Regions from separate parts of the Homo sapiens genome. Here region 2 is linked to region 1. Evidence: promoter capture Hi-C in 16 types of primary human blood cells and fetal thymus (Javierre and others, 2016). All regions are on one chromosome and are shown on one strand. Each heading gives the region's core, a stretch centred on a gene start or on the middle of the fragment in contact. The rest is flanking DNA. Distances are from core to core; before and after follow the strand shown.

Region 1 (3,492 bases), core at 729-3,228:
CAGAGAGAGAGAATGAGTGAGGGGGAAGTGCCAGACACTTTCAAAAAACCTGATCTCATGAGAACTCACTATCATGAGAAGAGCAAGGGGGAAGTTCGCCCCATGATTCAATCACCTCCCACCAGACTCCTGGGGATTACAATTTAAGGTGAGATTTGGGTGGGGACACACAGCCAAACCATATCACCCAGCTACTTAGGGGGCTGAGGTAGGAGGATTGCTTGAACCTGGCAGACAGAGGTTGCAGTGGGCCATGATCACACCACTGCACTCCAGCCTGAGCAACAGAGCAAGAACCTGTAACAACAACAACAAAACCCCCAATCATATTTTTACACACTATCTGACATAGTTTGAGTATTTCTCCCTTCCAAATCTCATCTTAAAATCTGATCCCAAGTGTGGGGCCTAGTTGGGGGTGTCTGGGTCACAGGGGCAGATCCTTCAGGAAAACTTAGTGCTGCCATTGCATAATGAGTTCTCATTCTGTTAGTTGCCTCCAGAGCTGATTGTTAAAAAGAGCCTGACCACTACCTCCCCTTTCTCTTGCTTCTCTTCTGGCCATGTGATCTGCACAGGCAGCCTCCCCTTCACTGAGTGGAAGCAGCCTGAAGCCCTCACCAGAAGCAGCCTGCAGAAGTGTGAGCCAAATAAACCTCTTTTATTTGTAAATTATTCAGTCTCAGGCATTCCTTTTTAGCAACACAGACTAAGACACTATCAAAGAACAACTGAAAATTTAAAATGTCATTTACATAATATCAAGAAGTATATTTTTCCCCCATCCTTAGATTTATGGATAAATCTGACATAGGGTGATATGGTTTGGCTGTGTCCCTGCCCAAACCTCATCTTGAACTGTAGTTACCATAATCCCCAGGTGTTGTGGGAGGGACCCGGTGGGAGGTAACTGAATCATGGGGGTGGTTATTCCCATGCTGTTCTCTGATAGTGAGTGAGGTATCACAAGATCTGATGGTTTTCTAAGGGGCTTTTCCCTCCTTGCTCCTCACTTCTCCTTCCTGCAGCCCTGTGAAGAAGGAGGTTTGCTCCCGCTTCTGCCATGATTTTAAGTTTCCTGAAGTCTCCCCAGCCATGCTGAACTGTAAGTCAATTAAACGTCTTTCCTTTATAAATTACTCAGTCCCAGGTATGTCTTTATTAGCACTGTGAAAATGGACTATATAAGACTAGACCTGACAAAAGATCAAAACATTTGCTGAGTGAAATAACACCTAAATAAATGAAGAGGCTTACTTTAAGGGTCATTACTAAATATTGTTAACATGTAAATTATTCTTACATGGATCTATAGACGAAATGTAACCAATCACAATCCCAACTTTTTAAAGTGACAAGCTGATTTTAACATTCATATGAAAACCCAAGGGACTAGATGAGCCAGAACATTTTTGAAAAATAACAAAAAATTGGAGGCCAAACACGATCTGATTTTAAGACTCTTACGAATCTACAGGAATCAAGACAATGTGGTATTTTTGTAGAGAGAAATATAATAAATTGTCGGAACAGAATAGAAAGTCTAAGAATAGACCCACAACTGATGCTTTAGGGACAACTGATTTTAAACATAGGTGCAAAAGCTATTCAGTGAGAAAAAGAAAGCTCTCTAAACAAATGACACTATTCACATACAAAAAAATGACCTAAGATCCATACTTTGCACCACAGACAAAAATTAGCTCTAATTGGATCACAGACCTCAATATAAAACCTAAAATTCTAAAACTTGTGTCAGAAAACACAGAAGAGATCCTCTGTGGCCTTGGGTTAGGCAAATTCCTTGGACAGACAAAAAACAAACCCTAAGATCCGATCTGAGCCGCCGCACAACCCTGCTCTGGCCACTTAGCCTGAGGTCACTGCTCGGGTCCCGCCCCTCTCCCCGCCCGGGACCCTCCTGGCTCCGCCCCAATCCGCCCGCTCCGCTCCACCCCGCCCCGCTGCCTCGTCTCCATCCGGAAGAGCCGCCGGGGCAGGGAAGTTGAGGCGGTGCGCGGCCCGGCGTCGGTCGAGAGCGCAGGCCCGGCAGAGCCGCAGGCGCTAGGCCGCCCGACACAGCCCGCGCGTCCCCGCGGCCGGTGGCGCCTCGAGCGGCCACGTGCACGCGCGCACTCCGCCTCACCAGCCTTCTTGCGCCGGAGACGAACCCGCTGCCTGGCTGGAGCTCTCTGGGCCCTTCGGCCTCGGGAGCAACGCGTTCCCGGCGACTTCTGACACAGCCAGTAAGTGATAGCCGCCTCCTCCTTTCGCGGTTATGTTTTTCTCCAGTTCGTCCCAAGTCTCGTTCCCGTCTCATTACTTCAAAAACTATTCAACTCCGGGACCGGACAGGCACGGGAGCTGCCCGGGAGAAGAGCCCCAGAAGTCTCAGAGACTGCCAAGGTGTTGTGGGGCAGGGGCTGCGTGCAAAGACCCTGTGAATTAGAAAGTTTGGAAAGCATGCCTCCAAAACCGAGCGACTCCACGTTTGCCAGGCGCCCCTGGGGCAGCCGAGCGGCCCGGAGGCGCGAAATGGCGCGCCCCCGCAGTGAGAGGGGCGGAGGGAGTGGGGCGGGGCCGAGGGCGCGCGTCCCGCCAGCCCGCGCGGAGGGGGCGGGGCTCCCGGCAGGTGCAGGCGGGCGGGGCGGGGCTGCCGCGATTCCCGGAGACAGCTGGGGGATGCCAGTGCAGTTAGGCACTCTCCTGTCTTCTTTTCGACGCTTCGCTGTGGTCAAGAGGACAAAGTAAAGCAAATGATTTTATTTTGACCCCAAATATTCAATAAGAAAAGGAAAGAGAACTTGAAAGTTGTGAAATGACCCTTCTCAAAACAAAAAGTCCCTCCAGTGTCTATCTGGGTGGGTAGTAGGTACGTTTATTGATTTAGCAAACTGCTGATAACACAGTTGATTAGTCAGTTTTGCATAGATGTTGAAAGGGAATGAATAACGATGGTCCATATAACCATAGAAATGCTAGCCTAACTAGGCAAAATTTAATCTGACCTTAATTTGAACGTTGAATTCTGCTGCTGCCCTTTTCCTGCCTTGTGTGGAGCTGTTTTTCAAATTGCTAAATTTGTGGCTCTAAACTTAATATGCTTTAATAGAATCATAGTGATTCTCTTGTAGCCACTGTTGGGAGTCCAGATTTTTTTTTTTTTTTTTTTGGGCAAAGTCCACATTGTGGAGATATTCCTTCCCAAGTGCTTTTTCTGCTTTACACTTGGCTGAATTTATATTGCTTAACCAAAAACAAATTACCGTGGAGGCCGTAATTTATTTCCACTCATTGTTTTGGATATACATTTACTCATTCTTACTCTCACTCTGGCCTCCTATAGTGGTCAGGATTCTTGACCTAACTGCTATATGTACTTCTTAAACGTTTCACACCTTGCGGAATAGTAGGTTCTCAGAGAAAGCAAAATATAGCAAATAGCGTGTATAACACGTACTTAGGATGATAAACTGTGAACTTTATAGCAGT
Region 2 (3,417 bases), core at 97-2,596, 650 kb after region 1:
ATTGCTGACATTTTGCTTCTTCTGGGAAGGAGTGCCTCTTAGTGGCGATAGTCAGAACACAGAATCAAGGTTTTTGAATTCTCCCAATTGTGCTGTAATCAGCTTTTGCTACTCATCTATTTTGAAACTTTTTTTTACCTCTTAGTTTTTAATTTGAGTAATAGCAACAAAACTGCTTGCTATCATGTATTGCCCACAATGATGAATAACTACGTAGTCTTTAAAGTTGAAGAGCTTGCATGTCAAAGAGACCTGGACTTAGAATACTGAATTAGAATCTTGACTGTGTGGCCTTGGGTGGACGAATTCATTGCTGGGAATACATGATGATCTGTCAGTCTCCTCCAGATTTCTGAATTCTGTTCTGCTCTACCCAAAACACACAGAATCCTGCCCTTCCATCACATGTCCTGGCATACTGTGAACTCTCACATGTGGGCTTTCATGACCTTAAAATACTATGTGGCCAATCTCTCATCCTCAAATCTCTCTCTTTCTCTGTAATTATGCCTAGACATGGGTACTCTGTTTTGCAGGGTCCCAAGCAGGAGTTTACAGCTAAATCTATACTTTCCCCAAATGTTGATACAATGCAAATGTAAAAAAAAAATAATGCTCTTTTCTCCACCTTGAAAGAATAAGGCATAGGATAAGCATAAGTGCTAAAATTCAGTGTCTGCCTTGGTATTACAACATAATAAAAATAACCTTTCCAAAGGAATCCTTGATTAAATGTATCTGGTGTGGGCTGTGGGCAGATTTGCTTCCTCTGACTTAGGGATTTTGGGGAGTTTGGTAGGTACCGAATATCTGGTCTTTCTGACTATGAAGACCAGGGATTCATCCAAAGATAAATTGGGTTTACCCATATGAAAAGTGCTTAAGGGCACAAATCATCGTTCCATATGAAAGCCACATCAGATCTACAAAAAAATTATTCTGAACATAAGTAAGTAAACTCAGTACAACAGCCCCCTCTAGCGTGGTAGAAGTGCCCTCAGAGGAAGGGGGAACAACCACTTTCCTATTTCGGAAAGGTAAAAGTCCTACGTGTAGATTCTATCGCAGTAATATTAGTTTGGTTTTTAATTCTCTATCAGAAGCTTGAATTCTCTAAAAACGGACCGTTTTTCTGCATGTGGGTTTCATGCTCCCTGTAGTGCATTTTCCTTTTAACCAAACTACTAAAAATGCAATAAGTATTACATAACTTATGACTAATACATGAAAAGACATAAAAATTAATTTGGTACTCCTTAAAGAAATCTGTGATTAACAGACTAGGGACAAGATCAATCCTCAAATTAATCCACTAAAAATAATAAAACTTGATCGGAACACAATCTAGGCACCAGAGCCTTGTTTCCGTTTTTCTTTTGTTTTTTGAAGGTGTCACTGATTTAAATACCATGACTGGGTTAGAAAGTTCCAGAATAATACCCTTCCATCATTTTGCGTGGACTTTGACTTGTGGGCTCTGTTGGTATATTCACTCATTTATTCAACTATTATTCTCTGAGTACTAACCATGCCCTGAGCACTCTGCTGTGGGCTAGGAACAATGAAAAACAGGATAGACAAGAAGCTTAGAGTTGCTATTAATGCTATGCAGAAAGACAAGTGTTTCTTAAAGAGAATGTCAGGAGCTTGCTTTAGACAGGGTGGTGAGGTAGGGCTACTTTGTGGAGGTGGCATTTACCTCGAGTGCTGAAGGACCAAAAGGAGATTGCCAGGAGAGGAGCCAAGGAAACCTGCACATGAAAAGTTCCTGAAAGGGACAGGGCCTCAAGTGTCCCAGATGCTGACCAAGGCCACAATGGCTGAGCAGAATGAAGAGAACGGGCAGAGGAAGCTGGAAAATTGGGAAGGGAATGGATTATGCCAGACCTTGCAGGTCTCAGAAAGGAATGTGTATCTTATTCTAGTTGTACGAGGAAGCCATTGAGGAGTTTGCGGCAGCTGACTAAAAGAATCTGATCTACATTTTCAAAAGGTGATTTTGGCTACTCTGTGGAGAAGGGATTGGAAGGAGAAAAGCATGGGACCAGTTACAGAGACCAGTTAGAATGGCGGTGTCACAATCCCGGCAAGAGAGGCTGGTAGCTTGCTTGGTTTTGCTCGAAACGGCAGTGGAGAAGGGAAGTGGTCTGTGAAGACTCAAGAAGCCCTGGTGATAGACTGATGTAGGTGGTGAGGGAAAGGAGAGCATGGAGGATGCCCAGGGGTTCTGGCTAATTTAGAAACTAGGTGAACTGTGACGCCATATACTGAGATGGAGGGAGCTAAAAGAGGACCAGATTTTCAGGAGAAATAAAATGCTCCATTTTGAATGTGTTGTTTTCGACGCTTATGCATTATCCAAAAGGATCTGTCCAGTAGGGAGCTGGATATATAATTGGAGGACTCAGAGAAGTGGTGAGATTTTACAAGCCCAGTTGGTGAGCAAAGGAGAGTAGGGAAATAAATACATGGCACTTTGCTAACCAGGCTACCTTATGATGCTTCCAGCTAAAATATTCTCAACCTATTTTTAAATGTTGCAGAAATTAGAGGTAGGGGGACAGGAGTGGAATATATACACTATCACAATTGACAACTAGGTCAACCGATGTTTTTGCATGTGAATATACTGTTTCCCAAGCAAAGCATAGCCAGCCTAGTTAACACATGATTAAATTGAGAGTTGGAATGCAGTATCGTTGCCCTTCCTTGGCTGTTCTTAGATGGACATTAGATAGTTAATGGACATTAACAATGCCTCTGAAAGTCCAACTTGCTGTCCAGGTAGGGTTTTCAATTGATCAGCATGATCATACAAATGAACTGAATTACTTTTTGACTGACAACTACAAAATGGCTGCAGTAACTACATTTATAACAGAGTATGTGTATAAACATTTCCTCTTGGAATGTTCTCTCTCTCACTAAGGATAGAATTTGATCACTCTTGTCCTTATGCACTAAAGTGATTTAAGCTACAGAGATGGGAAATACTATTATCAGCTAATATGGATTGAGCACTCACTATGTGTCATGTACTTTATGTACAGTAATTAATCTCCACAACAGTGTAATGCTGATAACTATTGCTATCCTCTTTATACAGGTTAGGAAATAGGCTTATAGAGTCAAGAAACACAGTCCATACTGGGTTAAATAGAGGATATGTTATATGGAGTACAAGTTACAAAGGTGTTCAAATGGGTGATGGGGAAACAGGGATGGTGAGACAACCTGAAGATTAGCAATACCAGGGAGTTACTCACAACCCAAGAGCTAGGGAAATACAAGAGGGAGGCCACATTACCTGAGATCAGAAGTTAGGGAAGCCCAGCAGGGGTAGAATCACAGAGGAGACTCAGCCACATCTAGAGGAGATCTGACCCCAAACAGAGGGACACAGAGAGAAACAATGGT

What was found. The method cuts DNA at HindIII sites, captures the fragments that hold promoters and counts their contacts. A CHiCAGO score of 5 or more calls a contact.
Region 2: a contact is called between a fragment that was not itself captured here and the fragment with the promoter of MCM9 in region 1, in 1 of 17 cell types (total CD8 T cells). The highest score is 5.2, in total CD8 T cells.

What each region holds. Positions count from the first base shown.
Region 1 is chr6:118,933,645-118,937,136 of GRCh38, reverse strand. MCM9 (minichromosome maintenance 9 homologous recombination repair factor) reads left to right here and starts at 1,978. Exons shown (of 14, transcript NM_017696.3): 1 at 1,978-2,246. LOC124901389 (a long non-coding RNA gene) reads right to left here and starts at 2,222. Exons shown (of 2, transcript XR_007059729.1): 1 at 2,147-2,222. RefSeq lists silencers at 1,800-2,229, 2,480-2,729. The HindIII fragment of the contact is 20,540 bases long and covers 1-3,492 here.
Region 2 is chr6:118,281,544-118,284,960 of GRCh38, reverse strand. The region is part of intron 6 of SLC35F1 (solute carrier family 35 member F1); the gene reads right to left. Among named protein-coding and RNA genes, the nearest start is that of PLN, 270 kb to the left of the region's middle. The HindIII fragment of the contact is 482 bases long and covers 1,106-1,587 here.